Linked DNA regions of Homo sapiens: regions 1 and 2 are each linked to region 3. Evidence: promoter capture Hi-C in human tissues and cell types (Jung and others, 2019). All regions are on one chromosome and are shown on one strand. Each heading gives the region's core, a stretch centred on a gene start or on the middle of the fragment in contact. The rest is flanking DNA. Distances are from core to core; before and after follow the strand shown.

Region 1 (3,687 bases), core at 190-2,689, 610 kb after region 3:
TTCTTGCAACACCAGCTGGGAATGCAGGAGACAGGGTAATGAGAACAGGCAGGCCTTTCTCAACAAGGGGCCGGACCTTTGGATAGCAGGGGCATTCACCTGAATGAAGTCACGAAGCACGTCTGAGAAGGGGCCCCAGGCACGGTTGTCCTGTTTTCCTCCACCACCCAGCCGTCCCCACCGTGTTGCACCATCCACTTTCGGAGGCCTTCTGTGAAATAAAAAAGGCTTGTGCCCAAGTTCCAGTCGCCCGCCTGTTGGTTCCTAGTGAGACCCCGCCCCTAGCCCCTCCCACGTGCTCACAGTGCAGCTCACTCACCTGACCCTTCCCACCGAGGCCCCGCCCCCTTCCCCTCCCACCAGCTCAGGGCAAAGCCCCGCTCCTCTGGCCCTTCTCACTGATTTGCAGCAAAGCCCTGCCCCTCCAACCCCTCTCTCGGGCTCCCAGAACTGCCCCACTCCCACCCCTCCCACAGGCAAACGGTGAAGCCCTGCCCAGTCAGCCCTGCACCCTGCGTGCCAATGCTGCCTCGTCCCTCCGACACCTCCCACCGGCTCCCAATGCTGCCCCGCCCCTCCGGCACCTCACACCGGCTCCCAATGCTGCCCCGCCTCTCCGACTCCTCCCACCGGTCCCACTGCGGCCCTGCCCCTGCGGCCCCTAGTACCGGTCCCAGTGCGGCCCCGCCCCTCCGGCCCCGCTACCGCTCCCACTGTGGCCCAGCATCCTGGACTTCCTCTTCCGAGATCCCACCTTGGCCGCAGGGGTTGCGAATAAGGTTGCGTCCGATGGGTCTGCGCGCGCAGAAGCGGCCCAGGGGGCAAGGCCTGGCGTTACGGGCGGGAGACTGGCAGCTGCGGGCGAGGTGCAGCAGCGCGCGGCCGGTGGCGCCGTGGTCGCGGGCCAGGATCAGCAGCCACAGGGCCTGGCCGTCCACCAGGGCTCGCCAGCCCCGGCACACTTGGCGGCAGCGCCCGAGCAGCGTGCGCGGGGGGACGTGGCTCAGCACCACCAGAAGCAGCTCTGGGGGTAGTTGGCTCAGGTCCAGCGCCTCTTCGGGTTCCGGCTCCGGCGCGGGGACCCGGGCGGCCCGGCCCCTGGAGACCGAGGCGCCCATGGTCCCCCCGCCAGGCCCGGCTGTGGCTGCGGGAGAGGAAGGGTCAAGGCGTCAGGGACCAGCAGCCTCCGCGGCGCGCAGCCTCTGCCTGCCCTGATTCTGCCAGCCGCACCCCCGTCTTCACCATCCCTGGGCCCCGTCCCCAAGTCCCCATCCCCCAGCCCGTCCTTGATAGCCCCGATATCCCGGAGACCCCGCGGTCTGTGTGTATGCCCCGAATTGCATGCAATCAGCCCCCCTCGGCGGCCGCACCGACACCGCACCCCAAGTCCTACCCCGGGGCCTGGCGGCGCTCCTCGCCGGGATGCCCTAGCTGTGCCGCAAGCTCCCCACGCCCCTCTGCGTCCTTTTTACTCGCCGGCCCCTCCCCTCTTACTAGCCAGCTTCACCCACCCCTGCATCCTCTTTCTTACTCGCCAGCCCCTCCCGCCTGCTCCCTCCCGCTCTCCAAACCCAACCTGCTTCCCGCGACGGGGCCAGGTGCAGCCAGGAGCCAAGGCCTGCTGCTCACAGCCGTCCCCTCCAGCCGGCCCCTTGAAGTGTCCCTAATTCGTTAGTAGCAATGAGACGTCTGGCTCTGAGCAACCATTGTTATTTTGGTCAGGCTTCTGAGTGGGAGGCCTCGTATCCGTTAACGTGTTAAAAAATTTCCATCACCTTTAAGGTCGGGCGTGGTTATCTTCATTTCACAGGAGAAAACAGGCTCCGGCTGCTAAAAATTAATGCAACCAATAGTAACACCAGCCAACTTTTATGGACGGTTTTACTGCCAGCCAGGGTGGCAACCCCATGAAGTAGGTGCTGTTATGCCCTTTACTTCACAGGTGAAAAAACTGAGACCAGCAGAGGCCAAGTGGCTTGTCTATGATCACCAGCTAGTAGGGATTTGAATCCAGCCAGCCTAGCTCCGGAATTCCTCATTTTAACCTCTAGATCAGCTCTGTCCAATAAAAATACAATTGTGGCTGGGTGCGGTGACTCATGCCCGTAATCCCAGCACTTTGGGAGGCCAAGGCAGGCGGATCGCTTGAGGTCAGAAGTTCGAGACCAGCCTGGCCAACATGGTGAAACCCCGTCTCTACTAAAAATACAAAAATTAGCTGGGCGTGGTAGCACGCGCCTGTAATCCCAGCTAATTTGGAGGCTTAGGCAGGAGAATTGCTTGAATCCGGGAGGGGGAGGTTGCAGTGAGCAGAGATTGCACCACTGCACTCCAGCCTGTGCAAAAGAGTGAGTGAGACTCCGTCTCAAAAAACAAACAGAAAAAAAAAATTGTGAAAGTTGATCATGTGAATTGGATCCTTCTTGTCATATCCAACTAAAACAAAGTTGAGAGGCCGGGGGGAAAACACTTAGGGCAGATACCATTGCTCCAAGAAAGTGATTCTCTGCAAGCCTGGCTGTTAAAACTGCCTGTTGTAACCTGGAAGCAGTCTAACTGGTACTGAAAAAACCTGCCGTGACTCTAAGACTAGTTTTTCCCTCTGCTGTCACTTACCAGTCAGAACTTGCCAGCTCCCCAGAACGTTGCTAGTGTCAATGAACTTTCTTGCAAAACAATACCTAACATTTCTGTTTCTTATAAAAACCTCTAACCTCTTTGTTCTTTGAAAGTTCTGAAGACCGCCTGGTCTGTGTGGATGCCTCGAATGTCAATTCTTGCTTCCCAAATAAAACATTTTATTATTTTTTTGAGACAGAGTCTCGCTCTGTCGCCCAGGCTGGAGGGCAGTGATGCAATCTCGTCTCACTGCAACCTCCGCCTCATGGGTTCAAGCGATTCTCCTGCCTCAGCCTCCCGAGTAGCTGGGATTACAGGCGCATGCCACCATGCCCAGCTAATTTTTGTATTTTTAGTAGAGACGGGGTTTCACCATGTTGGCCAGGATGGTCTCAAACTCCCGACCTCAGGTGATCTGCCCGCCTCAGCCTCCCAAAGTGCTGGGATCGCAGGCATGAGCCACCGCAACAAAACATTTTAAATCGAGAGATTTGTCTCTATATCTCTATATTTTATTTGGCTTCGACATAACGTGAGCTGTATACATAGTTTAAGACATCAACAAACAAAACCAGACATGGATTCTTCCCCACAAAGAACTTACCTTCTAGAGGGAGAGACATGATAAACAGTTGGCATAATGAGCAAATTACGTAGTATCAGGGAAATAATTAAATATAAAACCTCCAGGCCGGGCATGATGGCTCACGCCTGTAATCCCAGAACTTTGGGAGGCTGAGGCAGGCGGATCACTTGAGGTCAGGAGTGTGAGACCAGCCTGGCCAAAATGGCGAAACTCCGTCTCTACTGAAAATACAAAAATTAGCCGGGCATGGTGGCGCATGCCTGTGATCCCAGCTACTCGGGAAGCTGAGGCATGAGAATCACTTCAACAAGGGAGGCAGAGGTTGCAGTGAGCTGAGACCTCACCACTGCACTCCAGCCTAGGCGACAGAGTGAGAAGCTGTCTTAAATAAATAAAATAAATAAAACCTCCTTTTGACCCTCTTAGAATCCTCTCCACAAATGCAGAAAAGAATTAAATGGGTCCTGGCATGGGGGCTCACA
Region 2 (3,898 bases), core at 1,205-3,704, 870 kb after region 3:
AAGCCTTGGAGGGTCTTTCATGGGCCAATTGTGATCCTGTGTTATGATCTGAAGAGTATGATTAATAACTTTCTGCACCAAAGGGCTAAGAAAAAAAATAAAGGAGTGAAAATAGGAAATGTCTGCACATCAGAGCAGTTTCTTACCTGCTACACAATTACTATTACTGCAGGGATGATGATAGCAAGGCAACCAGACTCACCGCCTGCCTTCTCTCCAGGCAGCCCCTCCAGTCCCCAGGAAATGCGCTTGCCCCCAGCGAATAAGGAGTTCCCTACCCCTCTCATGCTACCCAGAGGGACAGAAAGGAGAAGTGGGCCTGCTACCCCCAGAGGTTCTCATCTTCTACCTGGGCTGCATATGGAATAGGGAGCAAGTACATAGGACTCATCATACCCCATTTCTGCCTCTATCCCACTGTGGGACCTTAGGCAAGTCACTTTGCCTTCCTATGCCTCAGTTATCTCACTAGTAAAATGGGCATGATTATTGTATTAGTCAGGGTTCTCCAGAGAGACAGAACAAATAGGATGTTTGGATAAATAGATGATAGATAGAGAGATATAGACTAGATAGATGAGAGAGATAGACTAGATAGAGAGAGAGAGAGAGAGAGAGAGAGAGAGAGACTAGATAGATGAGAGAGAGATAGGAGGGGATTTATTAGGGGAATTGGCTCAGACAATTAGGGAGGCTAAGAAGTTCCACAACAGGCCATCTGCAAGCTGGAGAACCAGGGAAGCTTGTAGTGCAGCTCAGTTCCAGAATAAAAGCCTCAGGACTTAGGGGGTAGCTAGTGCAAGTCCCAGCATTTTTTTTTTTTCTGAGATGGAGTCTCACTCTGTTGACCAGGCTGGAGTGCAGTGACATGATCTCAGCTCACTGCAGCCTCCGCCTCCAGGGTTCAAGCGATACTCCTGCCTCAGCCTCCCAAGTAGCTGGGACTACAGGCCTGTGCCACCACGCCTGGCTGATTTTTATATTTTTAGTAGAGATGGGGTTTCACCATGTTGGCCAGGCTGGTCTCGAACTCCTGACCTCAAGTGATTCACCTGCCTCAGCCTCCCAAACTGCTGGGATTACAGGCGTGAGCCACCATGCCCAGCTGCACATCCCAGCATTCAAAGACCAAAGAGCCTGGAGTTCTGATGTTTAAGGGCAGGTGCAGGGTGTCCCAGCTCATAAGAGAGAGCAAATTCTCCTTTCCTCTGCCTTTTTGTTCTATTCAGGCCCTCGGCCAATTGGATGGTGCCCACCACATTGGGTAACAACGGGTCTTCCTTACTCAGTCCATTGATTCAAATGCCAATCTCTTCTGGAAACACCCCAGAGTCATACCCAGAATTAACGCATCACCAGCTATCTGATAAACTTAACCAGTCAAGGTGACACCTAAAATTAACCATCACAATTATAAAAATAACTACTCAGAGAAACATTAGGAGCATGAACTGAAATTAGTTAATGGGACATTCTTAAACCAATGGCAGAAGCTCCTTCTTGGCCAGGAGCAGTGGCTCATGCCTTTAATACTAGCACTTTGCGAGGCTGAAGCAGGAGGATGGCTTAAGGCCAGGAGTTCAAGACTGGCCTGGGCAACATAGTGAGACCCCTATCTCTACAAAAATAAATAAATAAATAATAAAGTAAGGTGGTGGCTCACGCCTGTAATCCCAGCACTTTGGGAGGCCAAGGCAGGCAGATCATCTGAAGTCAGGAGTTCGAAGCCAGCGTGACCAACATAGTAAAACCCAGTCTCTACTAAAAATACAAAAACTAGCCAGGCGTGATGGCATGCACCTGTAATCCCAACTACTTAGGAGGCTGAGGCAGGAGAATCGCTTCAACTCGGGAGGCAGAAGTTGCAGTGAGCCAAGATTGCACCATTGCACTCCAGCCTGGGCAACAAGAGCAAAACTACGTCTCAAAAAATAATAATAACAATAAAATAAAAAACAAGCTTTTTTTTTTTTGAAACAGGATCTCACTCCATCACCCAGGCTGGAGTGCAGTGGCACGATCTTGGCTCACTGCAACCTCCGCCTCCCGGGTTCAAGTGATTCTCATGCCTCGGCCTCCTGAGTAGCTGAGACCACAGGCGCATGCCACCACACCTGGCTAATTTAGAATAAAAAAGAAGCTTCCTCTCTGCCACTCAGGTAGCCTTATCCCTAATCTCAGCCTCCGTCAGGGACTCCCTGAGGCCAGTTGGCTGAAAGCTGCCCAGGGAGTTCTAAGGATTTCAGTTTCTCTTTCCTTCTTGATGCAGCTCCCAGCTCACTTGGCCCTGCCCACACCTGTTCCCTCATCAGGCTCCCAGACGGGCCCCGCCCACTCATGCCTCTTAAGTCAAAGTGGAAATTCTCATTTCCAATTACCTTTTCACTTTACACACATCATCTTGGATTGCCCATTTTGCGTGGCTAAAAAGCAGAGCCATGCCGCTGGGGAAGCAGTTGCGATTTAGCCATGGCTGCAGCTTGGACCGTGGTGCTGGTGACTTTGGTGCTAGGCTTGGCCGTGGCAGGCCCTGTCCCCACTTCCAAGCCCACCACAACTGGGAAGGGCTGCCACATTGGCAGGTTCAAATCTCTGTCACCACAGGAGCTAGCGAGCTTCAAGAAGGCCAGGGACGCCTTGGTGAGTTCCTGTTGCTGTGGATGAACCACTTCTACGGGTGTCCCAATTACTGCCCTTCTACTGTGGGCTAGCCTCTAGCCTTCCAACTATGGCAAACCTCTATCCTTTCTGCACTGGGTTAAACCCATGCTGTCAGGCCAACTTCATCCTTGCTGCTATGAGCTAGCTTCCAGCCATCCTGCTGTGGGCTAACCCCTGCCCTTGCTCTCTAGGAAGAGTCACTCAAGCTGAAAAACTGGAGTTGCAGCTCTCCTGTCTTCCCCGGGAATTGGGACCTGAGGCTTCTCCAGGTGAGCTGAAAGTCAGGCCCCCTTCACCCTTCCCTTGACCCTCTCCCCCCTCTTCTTAAGTGGCCCCTTAGCCTTCTTTGTTTCCCTTGTCCTTCACTCTCTTGGACCTCTCCTCACCTGTCCTGTGCCCCTGCCACTTCAAAACTGCTCTCTTGACTCTGTCCTTCCCCTGGGTCCCTTTTATCATCTCCCATCGGCCCCACTTCCCTAGCTCGCTCACCTGTCCCTGTCACTTCCACTCTCACTCTTCATTTCTCTCCCAAATGTCTCCAGTCTGTCGCCCACCTGTGCCTTTCGTCCTGCTCCACTTCTCCCTGTCTGTTCCCAACACTGACCCCCTCTCCCTCTCACCTGCCTCTGTCACCTGTCCCTCATTATCTCTCACTGACATTCATCCAGCTCATGCTCCCCCCTCATCCACCCTTCTCTTTTTTTTTTTTTTTTTTTTTTTTTTGAGACAGAGTCTTGCTCTATGGCCCAGGCTGGAGTGCAGTGGCATGATCTCGGTTCACTGCAACCTCTGCCTCCCGGGTTCAAGCAATTATCCTGCCTCAGCCTCCCGAGTAGCTGGGATTACAGGCATGTGCCATGATGCCCAGCTAATTTTTGTATTTTTAGCAGAGACGGGGTTTCACTATGTTGGCCAGGCTTGGTCTCGAAATCCTGACCTCAGGTGATCCACCCGCCTCGGCCTCCCAAAGTGCTGGGATTACAGGCGTGAGCCACCACACCCAGCCCTACCCTTCTTCTCTGTGCATGCAACTGTCCCTCTCTTACTGTGCCCCCAACCTGCTTTCTCCTCACCCGTCCCCACCCCGCCCCAGAGAACTTCTGTGACCCCCGTAAGTCCCCTTTCATTTGTCTCCATTTCACTTATCCCCTCACCTGCCTCCTTGACCATCCTGCCTCACCTGTATCCTTCCTCATGTCTTCCCCCTCCTGTCTCCTTCTCCCCAGACCCCTCACCT
Region 3 (3,605 bases), core at 934-3,433:
TCACTTAATTTCTCTGGGGCTCAATTTCCTCGAAGGAAAAATGAGGATAGTCCTTGGACCTTCTCCAGGGATTTCTTTTTTCTTTCTTTCTTTCTTTTTTTGGAGACAGGGTCTCACTCTGTCACCCAGGCTGGAGTGCAGTGGTGCGATCTCAGCTCACTGCAACCTCCACCTCCCGGGTTCAAGCAATTCTCCTGCCTCAGCCTCCCAAGTAGTTGGGACTACAGGCACGTGCCACCACGCCGAGCTAATTTTTGTATTTTTAGTAGAAATGGGGTTTCACCATGTTGGCCAGGCTGGTTTCAAACTCCTGGGCCCAACTGATCCTCCCACCTTTGCCTCTGAAAGTGCTGGGATTACAGGTGTGAGCCATCACGCCAGGCTCCCACCTCTACCCTTTTTCAGACAGGGTCTTGCTCTGTCTCCCAGGCTGGAGCACAGTTGTGCAATCAAAGCTCATTGTAACCTTGAACTCCTGGACTCGAGTGATCCTCCTGCCTTAGTCTCCCAGGTAGCTGGGACTACAGGTGTGCACGACCATACCCAGCTAATTTTGTGTGTGTGTTTGGGTGTGTGTCAATGGGGGGGGGGGTCTCACTATATTTCTCAGGCTGGTCTAGAACTCCTGGCTTCAAGTTCTCCTTGTCTTATCCTCCCAAAGTGCTGGGATTAGAGGCATGAGCCATCGTTACTAGAAGGGACATTTTAAAGTATTATATATGTCCTAGGCTAAGGAAGGAGCATTCTAACTAAGTCAGCATTTCCCTAAGTGTGGGCACCCAGCTAGTACCAAAAGCATCACCTGGGAACTGGATATCAATACAGATTCTCAGGTCCCAACCCAGACCTACAAAATCAAACACTTTAAGGCTAAGGGTGGTGGCTCATGCCTCTAATCCCAGCACTTTGGGAGGCCGAGGTGGGTGGATCACGAGGTCAAGAGATCGAGACCATCCTGCCCAACATGGTGAAACCCCATCTCTACTAAAAATACAAAAAAGTAGCTGGGTGTGGTGGTGCACACCTGTAGTCCCAGCTACTTGGGAGGCTGAGGCAGGATGATCGCTTGAACCCGGGAGGCAGAGGTTGCAGTGAGCCAAGATTGTGCCACTGCACTCCAGCCTGGCGGCAGAGCGAGACTCCGTCTCAAAAAAAAAAAACAAAAAAAAAAAAACCAAACACTTTAAAGGTAAGCCCAGCAACCTGTATTTTACAAGCCCTCCAGACAGTTCTGAGGCTCGCTCCAGTTTGAGAACCACTGGTCTAGAGTGTCTCATTGAGTACTTACAGGCCTCTCCGAGGTAGAGGATATGATTGTTCTACTGACAGAAGAAAAACCCGAGACACAGAGCAGTTAAGTGACTTACCTAAGGTCACACAGCTAGGAAATTAGGCAGCCAGGAGTCTACCACTAAACTGCTGGGTGGGGAGGAAAGCCCTTTGCCCATCAGAGTGGTGCTGGGGGTGGCAGGAGGAGTTACCCAGGCTAGGGAGCCACCCACCATCTGCCTCTGTGGGGACAGAAGGGCCAGCTTGCCCAGGAGATGAAGCCCATTCCAGAACCGGCCGCACAGCCAGCCACTAGGCCCTGTCCTGCAGCCCCCTGTAGGGGTCTGGAACAGCCAGGAGTGGTTTAAGAGGCAGGGGAGTCGCCTTGCCCTGTGCCACACTCCCCTCTCCTGGGCCAGGCCCTGCAGGAGCCTGGAGTTTCCAGTCCACGGGGATGGGGAACCAGGAAGCCCCCAGGGAGGGCAGAGACACTCAGCCCAGGCCAGGGATGGAGGTGGGGTGATGAGGAGTGGAAAAGGGGCACGGAGCAGCTCAAACTCCAGGGACAACACGGTACAGATGCCACATACAAGCGACTGCAGCCGTAGCTGGCTCCAGACTCCCTGAAGCATCCACCTGGCCCCCCTGCGCCTGATCCCAAAGAAGTCAGGAATCCTGCCACCCTGGCGAGTGATCTCCCCAGCCCTCCCATGCAGAGGGAGGCCTCAGGGTGCTGCCGGGCTCCCTGGGGAGGGTCCTCTCACCTCTTACTGTCTTTTCTGTTCATGCTTCCCGCGTGGGGTGAGGAGGCCGGGGGTCTTGCAAGAGTAGGGCTCAGCTCCTCCCCTTGCCCAGGACTCCAGCTTCTCAGCCCCTAGGGAGCTGGGGCCTCCTCGGTGCTTGGGAAGGAAAGAGGAACTGCCCCTCCCCACCCACCCTCAGGCCAGGGGGAAGGAAGAGGCTGGGGAGAGACCGAAGGCCCCCCTCCCCCACACGGGGATCCCTTCTGCTGAGGTTTCCGGCATCGCTGGCTCTCCCACCCTCAAGCTCCCCGGCGGGCTCTCTATCTCCCCCATCTTTCGGTGTCGAGACCCGTCACTGTCATACTTCAATAAAAGAAGGGGCTTTTCTTTTTAAAGCATGACTGATATTTATGTAAAAACACACACACTCACTCAAAAAGATAAGTCTGTCTGTCTAGAAGGACATATTCATATATATAATTCATGAAGGTTTGAATGGAAACTCACAAGACATAGTATTTTGTATATTTCTTCATAGGCGTCTCTTATTCCTAGTTTAAGTGATACCATTTGTACCCTGGAAAACATTTTCACTTTCTGACTTTATTGTAACAAACCTCCACATAGCACCTACTGTGTACCACACACTGCTGTAAGGACTTTAAAAATATTAACTCATTTAATCCTCACACAATCCACTGTTACCTTAAAAAAAATTACATACCGGACCAGGCACGGGGGCTCACAGGGGCTCACGCCTGTCATCCAGCACTTTGGGAGGCCAAGGCAGGCGGATCGCTTGAGTCTAAGAGTTTGAGACCAGCTTGAACAACGTGACAAAACCCCGTCTCTACAAAAAATGTAAAACGTTAGGCCGGTGTGGTGGCTCACTCCTGCAATCCCAGCACTTTGGGAGGCCGAGGTGGGCGGATCACCTGAGGTTGGGAGTTTAAGACCAGCCTGAGCAACATGGAGAAACCCCGTCTCTACTAAAAATACAAAATTAGCCAGGCGTTGTGGCACATGCCTGTAATCCCAGCTACTCGGCAGGCTGAGGCAGGAGAATTGCTTGAACCCAGGAGGCGGAGGTTGCCGTGAGCCGAGATCGCGCCATTGCACTCCAGCCTGGGCAACAGGAGCGAAACTCTGTCTCAAAAAAAAAAAGTTAGCTGAGCGTAGTGATGCACACTTGTAGTCCCAGCTACTCAGGAGGCTGAGGCTAGAAGATTGCTTGAGCCCAAGGAGGTCGAGGCTGCAGTGAACCATGATGGTGCCACTGCACTTCAGTCTGCGTGGCAGAGCCAGACCCTGTCTCAAAAAACAAAAAACAAAAAAAAAAAACACACACACACATCAAAAAACATTAGAGATGGAGGTAAAGCCTTGGGGAAGCCCCTCCCCATCCCCTGCCTTTCTTAAGCAGGGTGTGACCAATATGACACGTTGTCGAGTTTCGTCCAAACTGCTGTCTGTGCGTTTAAGCACATCATATAAACATGTGCTCCTAGAAACAGACTTTTCTTTTGAGTGTGCATTTTTTTCTTTTTACCTAAATGTGTCATGCTCGACACTTTTTTTTAAATTGAAGTACAA

Evidence for each region. The method cuts DNA at HindIII sites, captures the fragments that hold promoters and counts their contacts. A contact is called where the count stands out against the background at its distance.
Region 1: a contact is called between the fragment with the promoter of FBXO27 here and the fragment with the promoter of RASGRP4 in region 3, in 5 of the 25 tissues and cell types used here (IMR-90 fibroblasts, lymphoblastoid cells, mesenchymal stem cells and 2 more).
Region 2: a contact is called between the fragment with the promoter of IFNL1 here and the fragment with the promoter of RASGRP4 in region 3, in 2 of the 25 tissues and cell types used here (adrenal gland and dorsolateral prefrontal cortex).

What each region holds. Positions count from the first base shown.
Region 1 is chr19:39,031,110-39,034,796 of GRCh38, forward strand. FBXO27 (F-box protein 27) reads right to left here and starts at 1,440. Exons shown (of 6, transcript NM_178820.5): 1 at 1,394-1,440; 2 at 755-1,144; 3 at 100-211; 4 at 1-15. The coding sequence starts at 1,118. RefSeq lists enhancers at 19-128, 535-1,327 and silencers at 237-419, 269-508, 659-738, 939-1,088, 1,149-1,218. The HindIII fragment of the contact is 13,585 bases long and covers 1-3,687 here.
Region 2 is chr19:39,293,953-39,297,850 of GRCh38, forward strand. It overlaps IFNL1 (interferon lambda 1), which reads left to right and starts at 2,455. Exons shown (of 5, transcript NM_172140.2): 1 at 2,455-2,640; 2 at 2,853-2,930. The coding sequence starts at 2,470. The HindIII fragment of the contact is 11,779 bases long and covers 1,352-3,898 here.
Region 3 is chr19:38,424,036-38,427,640 of GRCh38, forward strand. It overlaps RASGRP4 (RAS guanyl releasing protein 4), which reads right to left and starts at 2,184. Exons shown (of 17, transcript NM_170604.3): 1 at 2,034-2,184. The coding sequence starts at 2,056. RefSeq lists a silencer at 2,060-2,119 and an enhancer at 3,012-3,526. The HindIII fragment of the contact is 24,204 bases long and covers 1-3,605 here.